4 separate regions of the Homo sapiens genome follow, and all the other regions are linked to region 4. Evidence: promoter capture Hi-C in 16 types of primary human blood cells and fetal thymus (Javierre and others, 2016). All regions are on one chromosome and are shown on one strand. Each heading gives the region's core, a stretch centred on a gene start or on the middle of the fragment in contact. The rest is flanking DNA. Distances are from core to core; before and after follow the strand shown. Region 1 holds the start of DGUOK-AS1 (DGUOK antisense RNA 1). Region 2 overlaps STAMBP (STAM binding protein). Region 3 overlaps STAMBP (STAM binding protein). Region 4 holds the start of SLC4A5 (solute carrier family 4 member 5).

What was found. Contacts are between HindIII fragments. The CHiCAGO score rates a contact against its expected background, and 5 or more counts as called.
Region 1: a contact is called between the fragment with the promoter of DGUOK-AS1 here and the fragment with the promoter of SLC4A5 in region 4, in 1 of 17 cell types (activated CD4 T cells). The highest score is 5.4, in activated CD4 T cells.
Region 2: a contact is called between a fragment that was not itself captured here and the fragment with the promoter of SLC4A5 in region 4, in 11 of 17 cell types (naive B cells, total B cells, naive CD4 T cells and 8 more). The highest score is 10.7, in naive B cells.
Region 3: a fragment that was not itself captured here is called in contact with the fragment with the promoter of SLC4A5 in region 4 in 12 of 17 cell types (naive B cells, total CD4 T cells, total CD8 T cells and 9 more); the score reaches 12.8 in naive B cells.

What each region holds. Positions count from the first base shown.
Region 1 is chr2:73,980,114-73,983,299 of GRCh38, forward strand. It overlaps DGUOK-AS1 (DGUOK antisense RNA 1), which reads right to left and starts at 1,326. Exons shown (of 2, transcript NR_104030.1): 1 at 1,022-1,326. RefSeq lists an enhancer at 3,173-3,186. The HindIII fragment of the contact is 8,489 bases long and covers 1-3,186 here.
Region 2 is chr2:73,861,795-73,864,875 of GRCh38, forward strand. It overlaps STAMBP (STAM binding protein), which reads left to right. Exons shown (of 10, transcript NM_213622.4): 10 at 409-3,081. The coding sequence ends at 465. Among named protein-coding and RNA genes, the nearest start is that of ACTG2, 30 kb to the right of the region's middle. The HindIII fragment of the contact is 1,563 bases long and covers 544-2,106 here.
Region 3 is chr2:73,845,493-73,848,891 of GRCh38, forward strand. STAMBP (STAM binding protein) reads left to right here. Exons shown (of 10, transcript NM_213622.4): 5 at 1,895-2,261. The region is part of intron 1 of LOC112268419 (a long non-coding RNA gene); the gene reads right to left. Among named protein-coding and RNA genes, the nearest start is that of STAMBP, 18 kb to the left of the region's middle. The HindIII fragment of the contact is 1,702 bases long and covers 660-2,361 here.
Region 4 is chr2:74,342,114-74,345,413 of GRCh38, forward strand. SLC4A5 (solute carrier family 4 member 5) reads right to left here and starts at 1,303. Exons shown (of 31, transcript NM_133478.3): 1 at 1,243-1,303; 2 at 345-421. The HindIII fragment of the contact is 2,074 bases long and covers 701-2,774 here.

The DNA of each region.
Region 1 (3,186 bases), core at 76-2,575, 360 kb before region 4:
TCTCCTTGCAAGTAATGAAGCCTATTTGATTCAAAAAATTCAAAATGCAGTCACAAAACTAGTTATAAAACATGAGGACATTTGCGGGGCTATTGAAAAACGTAGTAGCCGGGCGCGGTGGCTCACTCATGTAATCCCAGCAGTTTGGGAGGTCGAGGTGGGTGGATCATGAGGTCAGGAGTTCAAGACCAGTCTCTACTAAAACTACAAAAATTAGCTGGGCGCGGTGGCAGGTGCCTGTAATCCCAGCTACTCGAGAGTCTGAGGCAGGAGAATCATTTGAACCTGGGCAGCAGAGGTTACAGTGAGCCCAGATCGCGCCACTGCACTTCAGCCTGGGTGACAAGAGTGAGACTCCATCTCAAAGAAAAAAAAAAAACCAAAACCCAAAACCAAAACAAAACAAAAAACCCAAAAACGCATAGCATAGATATCCTACACGTGTCACACTCACCAATGCAGGTCCACAAGCAACCCACTAATGAACCTCCCTTTCCCTGAGAGCAAAATGCCAGCTTCTGCCTGGTATCAGCTCTAGCATTCGTGGGCTAATTTCAGAGGTCCTGGATTGTAGGTCCTGGATTCTGACATGTAGTAGTGAATGACCTTGGACAAATTACCTCACTGAGCGCCAGTTCTCTTATCTGTAAAATGGTGATGATAATAAAAACTATGTCATAGATAAGGAAAGTTAACATTTGCACATTTGTTGTATTTGCCACTCTGTGCAGACAGAAGGATAATGTGTGTGGAAGTGCTTTGAAAAGGGAAAGATCTATGCAAATATTAGTTGATAATATTTTTAGCCAATACATGACCAAAGAAGTAATACATCCAAAATCAAATAAACCTCCCAATACCTTCAGTCTTTAAAACCAAGCCCAGGTATGGATATCGGGATGTATTTACATTTCTGCAAAAGGTCCCCATACGCAAATCTCATTCTTAAATAAGGACAAATTACTCATTAGCTGAAGAGGAGAGAGGTCAAGTACCTGAGGAGGTTAGTCACATCAATCACCTGAGAGTTCAGCAGCATCCAACAGTGTTAGTTCCACGTGTTAACTTCCTGAAGAACCACAGGCTTGCACATCCAATTATGCTTCCTGTCCCTTTCCTCCCCCGTGCGGAATCAACTTCAGCTCATCAATGGGGTAGGAAAGCCTCCTTATTTCGCACCCTCCATGCTCCAGGCATCCAGGGAAATGCCCCTGCCACCCCTATCTCCCTTGAGTTCTTAGGGCTTCCTCCTCTAGCAAGGAGATTTCCCTTTCTAGTCCCGGGGGCAGCGGCACAGCCCGGCTCTGACCTCGCGGGAGCAGTCGCCTAAAAGAGGCTCCGCCCTTGGCCGCTTGGGGTGGCGCCCGCCAAACCCGCTCCTAAAAGGAGCCTCTCTCCCTCTGTCTGCTCTAAGCGCCTTGGGGGCCTAATCGCAGTCTCCACCTGGGTGCTGAACTTCCTTCTCCCCCGCTTGCTGTAGTCCAGTGCTGCTCTAACTTGACTTCACCTGACGGACTAATTAAAACAGATTGCTGGGCCCGCCCCCAGGGTTTCTGATTCAGTGGGGTTAGGATGGGGCCGAGAGCTTGCATTTCTAGCCAGTTCCCAGGAGATGGTGATGCTGCTGGTGCCGGGGCTCTCTTGGCGGAACCACTGCGTCTAGGCTAATGCAGCCCCAGGAAGGGCTCGCCCTATCCCTACGCCCACCCCCGCTGCTCTCCTGCCCTGAGCGCAATGTGAATGGGAATAGCCGCAGCAGCCCAGGAGGCTGGAGAACCAGAAGGCAGGACCTGAGGAGTTTAGGCTGTTTTATCTTGGGCGCCCCTGACCAGTTTGTGCAAGTCGTAAAGAAAGCAGGAAAGAAGCCTATGGGTCTTCAGTGTTACTGGGGTCTGTCATTCATTAGGGTCTACTCACCTCGTCTCTTCATTCAACACAGTGGTTGGTTGCTAGGTCTAGGGTTATGAGGTGAAAGACAGCGTGCTACCCTTCCAGGAGTTTGTAGTAACTGGGAAAGAAACATGCAAACCATTCCAGTGCCCAGCGCCGATGAGATAACTGTTCCTAGGCAGGGAGAGTCAAACTTCTGTGGAGGGAGAGTGGGTGGGGCTCTGGAATCATCTGAGCAGCTGGAGGTTTCATGGAACTGGCACTTATGACTTGCAGGATGAGTGGGAATTTGGCAGGTACAAGGGGTAGCTGAGAAGGGGTGGGGTGGGAAGGGTTTTTCCCCAGGCAGAAGGAATGAGCAACAGGACTGCCGAAGTGTAAGGTTCCAGAGGCCGGGAAGATATGACAGGCAGCTCTCTAGCCTGGCTGGGTTCCCTCCAACCTCTCTGGCGGCGCCTTCTCAGCTCCTGTCCCTCATGGGCTGGTATTCCCTGGGGCTCTGTCCTGGCAGCCTTTCCCTCTCACACTCCATATCCACCCTGGATGAGCTCCTCCACAACTGAGGCCTCGCTGTCTGCTCACTGATGGGGCCCAAATCTCAAACCCAGGCCTCACCCCCTCAGTTGCACACTCACTTTCACACGAATGTCTCCATCCCCAGGCATCCTTCCTTCTGCATTTTGTCACAGTGAATGGCACCAGCATTCACCCAGTTACCTAAACGAGAGGGCTTTATGAAATGACCCTCTCATAGATTGCTGGCAAAGAGTAAATGACACAGTAACTTGCTGGTGCCATTTACCCAGACAGAATACAAGAGGATGGCTGCTGGGCTCCTCTGAAAGTCCACAACTTACTAGCTGAGTGATCCTGGGCAAGTTATTTAATCTGTTTTCTTATCCATAAAATGGGTTTGATGATAGTACCTACCTCACAAGGTTGTCATATGGATTAAACAATATTAGTTGTTGTCATTCATTGAGCCCTATATTAAGTCTTTTACTTGGATTCCCTTGAAGATGGAGTACCTAGTCCAAGGTCACACTGTTACCAAGTGGCAGATTCAGGTTTGGAAGCCAGAGTTCTCTGGCTCCTGAGCCATCTTCTTCACCTCACTGTCACACTTTCTGAAAACTGTATACCAAACAGGGAAATGCCTATGGTACAATGTTAAGTTAAAAGAGGATGGCAAATTGTATAATCAGTGTGAGTAAATCCACAAATAGGAAAGGCTACAAGGAAATATAGCAAATGGTTAAATATGGTTGTAATTTGGTGATTTTTCCCCTCTAGTAT
Region 2 (3,081 bases), core at 75-2,574, 480 kb before region 4:
GGGATTACAAGCGTGAGCCACCGCACCCAGCCAAAAAGTGGTTTTTTAAAATGACTTTTCAGGCCGGGCACGGTGGCTCACGCCTATAATCCCAATACTTTGGGAGACTGAGGCAGGCAGATTACTTGAGGTCAGGAGTTCAAGTCCAGGCTGACCAACATGGCGAAACCCCACCTCTACTAAAAACACAAAATTAGCCAGGCATGGTGGCTCGTGCCTGTAATCCCAGCTACTGGGAAAGCTAAGGCAGAAGAATCGCTTGAACCCAGGAGGCGGGGGTTGCAGTGAGCCGAGATCGTGCCACTGCACTCCAGCCTGGGCAACAGAGCAAGACCCTATATGAAGAAAAAAAAAAAAAAGACTTTTCAGAATTTTCTAGGACTCCACCTTTCTTTTTTCCTATTGCAGAGCTGCAGCCACGTGACTGTTGTGGACAGAGCAGTGACCATCACAGACCTTCGATGAGCGTTTGAGTCCAACACCTTCCAAGAACAACAAAACCATATCAGTGTACTGTAGCCCCTTAATTTAAGCTTTCTAGAAAGCTTTGGAAGTTTTTGTAGATAGTAGAAAGGGGGGCATCACCTGAGAAAGAGCTGATTTTGTATTTCAGGTTTGAAAAGAAATAACTGAACATATTTTTTAGGCAAGTCAGAAAGAGAACATGGTCACCCAAAAGCAACTGTAACTCAGAAATTAAGTTACTCAGAAATTAAGTAGCTCAGAAATTAAGAAAGAATGGTATAATGAACCCCCATATACCCTTCCTTCTGGATTCACCAATTGTTAACATTTTTTTCCTCTCAGCTATCCTTCTAATTTCTCTCTAATTTCAATTTGTTTATATTTACCTCTGGGCTCAATAAGGGCATCTGTGCAGAAATTTGGAAGCCATTTAGAAAATCTTTTGGATTTTCCTGTGGTTTATGGCAATATGAATGGAGCTTATTACTGGGGTGAGGGACAGCTTACTCCATTTGACCAGATTGTTTGGCTAACACATCCCGAAGAATGATTTTGTCAGGAATTATTGTTATTTAATAAATATTTCAGGATATTTTTCCTCTACAATAAAGTAACAATTAACTTATGTTTTTGTGCTTCAGAGTGATCCATTTGATCAAGCATTGTATAAACAGGTTAAAAAAAAGGTATGGTTGTTTTGGAAAGGTGAAGGAAAAATGGAATTTGAGATATACTGACACTGATGGTGTGTCCCAGTTCACTTTTAATTACTCCTTGTTTTTTATCTGCCTGTTGCCATCTTCCAGAGGTGTTGTGAAGTCATCTCTGTTCTTTTGGTGCTGTCTCAAATGGGTCAACCATTCACTTCCTCCTTATGCCCTCCATGCTTTTGGCTGAGGATAATGAAGCCTTTGTTTGGAGTACCAGGTTACACTCCAATAAATGATTACATTTCCCAGCCACCCCACCCTACCAATTTCATTGTGTTGGCTGTTCTTTTCTGACTAAGGCAATACCTAGGAAAACGCTTGAAGCAGCAATTGTTACTGCAATTTTCTGTGAGCTGAGCCTGGTGTTCTAGGTGGCCTAGAAATAATGGTGTCATTTGTGACACCTCGAGTGAGGGCAGGAGAGTAAATACTTTGGCTAGGAGAAGAGTGATTTATTCTTTATCAGAATTCTAGGTGGGGGAGGGAGAATCTGTGAATGCATAAAGTTTTCTTCATTTTTAAATTTTGTCTCAGTCTTTATTGCTTAGGTTAGTGGTCCTTGAACTTGTCCCCTGAAAGAGCCCAGTTCTCTATATTCTTTTTCTTCTCTTGGGTTCTTAATTCCCCATATAGTGGAAATTCCTTCTTTGCTGTTTTGGTATGGGTGGGTCTGGGGGCCAGCTGGGCTTGGACAAGCCATTTCCTGCTGCAGCCCAGAGCAGCCTGGCTGTTCCACCTTGCTCTAAACAGTCCTGAAATTGCCCAGTCCTCTGCTTTTGGGAAATCCATCCCCTTCTTCCCATTCTTTGTCTACCACTTAGCTTAGGGCTTTCTTACCTTTTATTTCGACTGTAGCCGTTGGCTTTTACCAAGTCTCTTTGTTTTTAGCATTTCTTCATTCCAGTCTGTTCTGCACACTTTGATCAGGAGAAGCTTCTCACATTCCAGCCATGTTCATGTTTTCTCTCTTGCTCAAAAACCTGCAATAGCTTCCCATTGCTGAAAATCTAAATTTAGCTTTTAGTCAGAACTTTCCACTTAAAGTTCTTACCCCTGGCTATATATTCAAATATCTAGGGAGCAATTTAAAAAATACTGATGCCTGTGTTCTACCCCCCACCAATTAAAGCTGAATCTCTAGGGTGGAGCCTCAGATGTTGTTTCTGCATTTGTCTTTCAAGCTGCTAGAATTCTCAAGTACAACCAGGGTTGACAACCACTGCATTGGTCTTTGATACCTAAGAATTGTGAGCTCTCTTATCCGTCTCTGCCCACCAAAGACATTCAGCCAGGTCAACAACATATCATACGTTGCAACCACATTGATCACAGACTGATCACCAAACTGCTATATTTTCTTTTCTCTTCCTCTAGGCACAAGATATCTTAGTGGCTAGATGGGTGCAGGAAATCAGTCTGTAGATCCCTCTTCATATCTGCTGCAGCCTAGCCACTGCAGAGGCACTCTGCATAGGATGGTCTAAGTGTCTCTGTCTTCATCTTACCTCTGTGGAGGAGACGTGGAATCAAGCCAGCCCACAAGCCCTGAGACTGGATAGGCCGGAGAGAAAGAGGAGTAGCCAGAGCGGTCGGGAAAAGAGGAAAGGAATACTGTGGGTAAAAGGGACAAAGACCACGCAACCTGAGGAAAGACATTGTATTGAAAGGGTAATGACTATTTGGCTAAAGGGACTGACTCCTGGGTTCCCGAGGCTCAAAGACCAGGAGACTTTTCCACTCTTGCAAGCTGCACAAGTACCATACTTAGTGTTCTGGGCTGAGAGGGGAGACAAAAGCATCGTCAGGTTGCCAAACAATGTCCCAGTTGCCCTGGGAGGCACAAACCTACCAAAGTGCCATAGGCCAGGTGCAGAGAGAATCAGAGGAGCTGATTTGCTTGGGGTCA
Region 3 (3,399 bases), core at 261-2,760, 500 kb before region 4:
TACCTGCTATGTCTAGAGTGAGAATCATAAGAACAATGAACATTCTCTCCAAAACATAGGTTTTTAGATCAGAGAATTTGAGGGTTGGATTCACATTTGGTTATACCTGAAGCTATTTATAAGAATTGACTTTTCAAGCTATTTTTTTTTTTTTTTTTTGAGACAGTCTCACTCTGTCGCCTAGGCTGGAGTGCAGTGGCACGATCTCAGCTCACTGCAACCTCTGCCTCCCCGACTCAAGTGATTCTCCTACCTCAGCCTCCCGAGTGACTGGGACTACAGGCATCCGCCACCATACCCGGCTAATTTTTGTATTTTTAGTAGAGATGGGGTTTCACCATGTTGGCCAAGATGGTCTCAAACTCCTGACCTCAAGTGATCCGCCTGCCTCGGCCTTCCAAAGTGCTGGGATTACAGGCGTGAGCCGCTGCACCCAGCCATTTCAAGCTATTTTCAAATGATTCTTTTTAGGAAGTCAGTTAAAACATGTGGAGAAACTGCCAGGGCGCTGTCAGTGGCCAGCTGTGAATACATACTGCAGCCACTCACAGGCTGTTGTGTAGCTGTCTGCTGGTCTCTATTCTGGACTCTGATGTTGAAAATCAGCAGAGGGATGAACAGCTATGAGGTATATACTTCTAAAGCACCAAGTGAGTGTAAGCTTTAAGGAGGAGGTTATTACTTAGCATTTCTTTCTTTCTTTTTTTTTTTAATCCAAATGCCTCTCAAGTATTTCTTATTAGCTTAAAATGTCACTCTGTGTTGAACAAATGCACAAAAACCATAAAAATTTCAGAGGCCTCATTTTGGGTTAAAATTCAGTAGAAGGCAAGACGTGGTGGCTCATGCCTGTAATCCTAGCACTTTGGGAGCCTGAAGTGGGTGATCGCTTGAGCCCAGGAGTTCGAGACCAGCCTGGGCAACATGGTGAAACCCCATCTCTACAAAAAATACAAAAATTAGCTGGGTCTCTACAAAAAATACAAAAATTAGTGTGGTGGCACGCACCTCTGGTTTCAGCTACTCGGGAGGCTGAGATGGGAGGATCACCTGCGCCCAGGGAGATTGAGGCTGCAGTGAGCCATGATTGACCACTACAGTCCAGCCTAGGTGACAGAGTGAGACTCTCTAAGAAAAAAAAAAAAAATTCAGTAGAGACCCCCAAGATAGCAGGTATAAGTTTGGATCTGGTTCTATTTTATAGCCTTACTTGAAATATAGAATATGTACATGACACAGAGAGAAGAATAAAACTGTCTGTGATACAGGTTAGGAGAACACAGATAGTAAGTTGCATCAAGATTTCAGGCCAGACATTGTGGCTCACACCTGGAATCCCAGCGCTTCGGGAGGCCGAGGTGGGCAGATTGTTTGAGCCCAGGAGTTCAAGACTAGCCTGGGCAACATGGCGAAACCCTGTCTCTACAAAAAATACAAAAATTAGCCAGGTGTGGTGGTGCACACCTGTGGTCCCACCTACTCAGGAGGCTAAGGTGGGAGGATTGCTTGAGCCTGGGAGGTCAAGGCTGCAGTGAGCTGTGATCATGCCATTGCACTTCAGCCTGGGAAACAGAATGAGACCCTGTCTCAAAAAAAAAAAAAAAAAGATTTCAGTGAAGAGGAAAGTGCATTAGGTAGAGTCATTGTCGGGAGGGTATTGAGAGGATTGGGATTTTAATTGTCCTTGGAGATAGGTATACTGTGGCCAGATAGAAAGGGGTGGTGACTACACTCCGTGGGTATAAAGATACTGAGGAAAGCATGAATTCTGTGTTAGGTAATCAGGCCACAGCAGAAGTACATTTTGGAAATCTCCATGCTAAAAAGCCTTGTTCTCCTGAAGTGTGAAGTCACTGAGGTGTGAAGTGTTAGCCTAAATTTTCTCTCTTTGTAGAAGAAGGAAGCAGAGGAATTGGCCCGGAACATGGCCATCCAGCAAGAGCTGGAAAAGGAAAAACAGAGGGTAGCACAACAGAAGCAGCAGCAATTGGAACAGGAACAGTTCCATGCCTTCGAGGAGATGATCCGGAACCAGGAGCTAGAAAAAGAGCGACTGAAAATTGTACAGGAGTTTGGGAAGGTAGACCCTGGCCTAGGTGGCCCGCTAGTGCCTGACTTGGAGAAGCCCTCCTTAGATGTGTTCCCCACCTTAACAGTCTCATCCATACAGCCTTCAGACTGTCACACAACTGTAAGGCCAGCTAAGCCACCTGTGGTGGACAGGTCCTTGAAACCTGGAGCACTGAGCAACTCAGAAAGTAGTAAGTGCATTTGCTGATGTCCTCTTCCTTCTCAGTTGCAGCCAAACAGTATCATTCTGACGGGGTCAACCTAAGATTACCTCCCTGATCCCACTCATTAAGCTTTGGTCACAGAAACCCATCTGATAAGTATTGCTGTACTGTGTCCTAATACACTGGCTATGTTATAAAAGTGGCCTTTGCTGAAACCTAGTCTGGTCGATTTTCTGAAGAGCTAATATTATTCTTGAAAGTCAGACTGTCAACTTTTTAGTGAAAGGAAAAGAATGTGCCAAACCGAATTCATAATCCTCAGATAACATCATCAGACTGCTGTGTGACTCTGTGTCCCCTGCTCTGACTTTGTTACCTCTCTAGCAATTCAGATCTTGCTGTTGAATACGCAAAAGCAGAACATCTTTCCCCTCCCACTTTTTTTTTTTAAATATGAAAATATAGCTGTGAGAGACACTTCCTAACTTTAGCTTGCTGGCTGTCTCACAGAGTTTCTCCATGGTGTTCAGAAACTGGGTCCATTCTTGGCATTTTTTATGAGCTGCTTTGTTCATGCCTTTTTTGGGGGACTACACTGTATTTTTTATTTTGTTGTGGTTTGGCATTTAACTTCTTCCAGAAGAGTAAGTTCAGAAGTAAATAACTGCCCAGATTGTTTTCCATTCTCAAGAATATACACCAGTGTATTTCTTTTAAAGTCATACTCTGATATTCTTATCTGAGATAAAAGAGATTTAAAATTAAAAGTTCAGATGAATGGGCAGTGTCTTAGTCCATTTTGTGCTGCTATAACAGAATACCTGAGGCTGGATAATTTATAATGAACATAAATTTATTTGGTTCATAGTTCTGGAGAGTGGAAAGTCCAAGACCCAGGGGCCTGGCAAAGGCCTTCTTGCTGCGTCATCCCACGACAGAAGGGTGGAAGGGCAAACAAAGATCCCTCATAGCCTCATCACCTCTTAAAGATCCTACCTCTCAATAATTTTGCATTAGGAATTAAGTTTCCAAAACATGAACTTTGGGAGACACAGTCAAACCACAGCAGGGAGGTTATTTTTTTAATTCTTTGTATTAGATTCTGACAGAAAATTCCCAAATGTTTCAAGAACTTGTGTCTTTTTCCCCCCTAAATTTTATTTTT
Region 4 (3,300 bases), core at 53-2,552:
CTACAGATGAAGGATGAGGGAAGGAAACCCAAGACCAGTTGATTCTGGTTTGGGAAATGATAACACTGGAGAACACACTCTACTATCTGTTTCTTGTGACATCCTTTGTGCTAAAGTTATCTCCTTTGTTGGCATGGCCACCATCCCTACTTCTAGTGCAGTGGAGATGTATGAGTGTCTCCATTGCTAAGTGTTTAGTTACTCAAGATAAACTTGACTGGAGAGGGTGTGGGCAGGCATTCAGTCAAGCAACAAGCCACTCACTGAGTGCCACCAATGGTGTGGGAAAAGATGACTCTCCTTAGACTGGTCCATCCAAAATAAAGGAGGTGGGGAGAGCATACCTGGGTGGTCTTCAGGGTACTCCTGGAAACATCCATCAGCTCATGAGCTCACAGCTGAATTCCAAATCCTGGGATGCCTGCTTGGAGGGAGGGTAAAACACCATTTCTCAGGGACAGAAGCCCACAAAGCTAAGGGCACTGGGTTTCTAAGTCAGGATTTCATCACGGCTGGATGACCCTTTTTTAAGGAAAGCCAGCTGATCTCCAGGACTCCTGATACATAAGAGCTATGCAGTCTGTCACTTCTAGGGAGAGAGATGGGGACTAGCTCTGGTTCCTCATGCGTTCCTTCCCTCTCACTCCCTAAAGACCTCAAGAAACAGATCCTTGGTAACAATGCCTTCTTTGGGCCAGAAAGCTTAGTTGAAGTGTGGATTCTTATACAAGTCTCATGTTTTCTGGACTCCTAGGAGACTCAGAGGAGACACCATAGGTAACCCTTATTGAACTGGAAGAAGTGTGAAGTACTATCAACCACTGAGACTCCCATGGCTCAAGAATATGCACAGAGGTCTAACTAGATATAGGTCTCAGCCCCTGACTTTAGAAGTCTGACATTCCACAGATATGCACACACTACACGCTCCCCTCACAGAGGAAACTGGAGTAGGGGGACACAGCAGAACAAAATCGCAACACTACTACAGGAAAACCTCGTCATTCCGTTACTTGTCCTTTGCTATGTTGGAATACTTATAGATTAGTTTCAACAATCAGGTTACTCCTTATCTTTGCTCTAAGTCTTGTACAGGCCTTTAGCAAAAAGCAATAAAATTCTCATCTGACTCTTGGTGGGCTGGGGAATCTGCCTATTCTATTCAGTTGGTTCACTCACATCTCCAAACCAGAACCTACAACCACTCTGTAACTTTATTTATGTAAAATCCACTCTACTTACCCCAGTGCAGTGGCCTGTGGCTCCTGGGCCCTGACTCCAATTCCTTTAGGGTGGACCTTGCAGTTGGAACCATCCACCTCTCGTTTTTTCTATCTCTGCTATTAACATAGCCCCTCCTCTATTGCCTCACCAACTATTTTCAAACCAAAAAGTCTTTGTCTATTCATAGCCACTGTAAAAGTAACATTCATTTTTCTGTTTTTTAATCTAATGTCTGCGTCTTCAGTGGTTCTCACTGGCTAATCTAATCAGTGTGTTCTAGGGAGGTTTATTCCTTGCCTGTTCAGCTTGTCCCAGCACAACAAAGGTAAGTCATTTGCCTGGGGAGAATCAGCTCTTTTAAATCAGACAATCCTCAGGAAAGATGTCAGGACTTTTGCCTCTTTTCTTCATGGGACTGAGATTCAGGAGAACATTCCACATTCCACTGCCACACAGCTCTGCAAACCCCAAATCCTGACTCTCCGAAGAAGGATATGGGCAAGGAAAACAAAGAAGGCATTTGAAAAAACCAAACCTTGCAAGAAAAACTTTGCGTACTTGGTGATTTTTCCAGGTTTATCCTGACTTTTGGCCTCTGTTTTTATGAATTCCATTTTTGTTTAAGTGAAAAAGATACGGTGAGAGAGACATAGTGGAAAATGGGAAGTTTGGAGGAAGATGGGAAGGAAGAAGCCAGTGAGTAGGAAGTGAGAATCGGGAGTGGAGGGAGTGAGGGACGCGGTGCTGAGCGATGGGGAAGAGAAGCATGCCAGGAAGGCGCAGCGTCTCTGGGCACCCAGCATGGGGCCTGGTATATGCACACATTTCCCCTCATTGAACTCTCAACAGTCCAGTGGGGAGAGCATTCTCGTCCCCAACCTTACAGAGCTGGAACAGAAGCTCAGAGACTTACAGACAGGAAGAAAAGTAGGAGCTGGAAGCCCCATTAAAAAAGCAACTCTACCCCTCTTCTTCCAGTCTCTTCTGTGGCTTCTCTAAGGGTCTTCAGCCTCCTTATTTCAGGGTTGACCTTCTCTTTCAGATAGGAAATTTATCATCTGGTTGGATATCCTCACTTTCTTCCTAGATCACGTGGAGTTTTCCCTTAGTGGAAAAGCCTCATTCCTGGATCTAGAGCCTGCTGGTGGCAGACATGTAAAAAACATGTTTCGGAGGCCATGCCCAAGCCAACACATTAACCCAACATTATAGTTTCTGTTAATAATCCATGGAATCAAAGACAGGCAAGACTAGGGAGATCAACACATGCTGGGTCACCAGAGGCTTTCCTGGTTTTAGCACAGAAGATCTGTGACCCAGGAAACCCCTTAGTCCCAGGAAGATCAGCACAGCCTAGGCCAGAAACAGTTTCGGGCCTTAGGGAATTTCCAGCTGGTTGGGGATTCAACAAATTCAGAAGAGTGTGAGGCTCCAAAAAGAAGCACAAAGGGAGGGAAGGGTTCAGTGAAAGAAAAATCACCCTTGTTTGGAGGATTACCTTGTTCCACAAATGTTCATGGCTTACCTACCAGCCCCATGTGTTAAAGAAAAGCTTTGTGGAGAAAATGGCCTTGGAGATGCAGTGAAGGGATAGGATAGGGGTAGGATTTAGAACAGTAGAACTACCAAGGGGTATCTGAGGCAGAGGGAAGAAGCCACAAAAAATATAGACATAAGAGGTGGGAGAACATAGCATAAATATCCTGAGAACTGGAGAGCAGTTTCCCTGGCACAGGGCAGGTTTGGGGAAATAAAGCTTTGGGCATGCGACGATAGGCTGGGTAGTCTATGGAGAGGTGTAAACATCAGCAAACATGTCTGAAGTGAAAGGAATGTGGAAGGGGACTTGGTACAAGAATGGAATAATGGACTTCACAGTGGATTGTAGCACAGGTGGAAAGACCAGTTGAGACGTTACTGCCAAGCATTCAAGTGAAACCCTTTGGTTTCTACCTACCCAGGTTTTGTTCAAATAATTTGGACATTTATTTCAGACACTTCAGGTTTGGGGTTTTTTTGTCTCTCACTTCACACAGGAATTTGAGGGTGAGCTTCATCTGGTTTGGTGAGGGTATT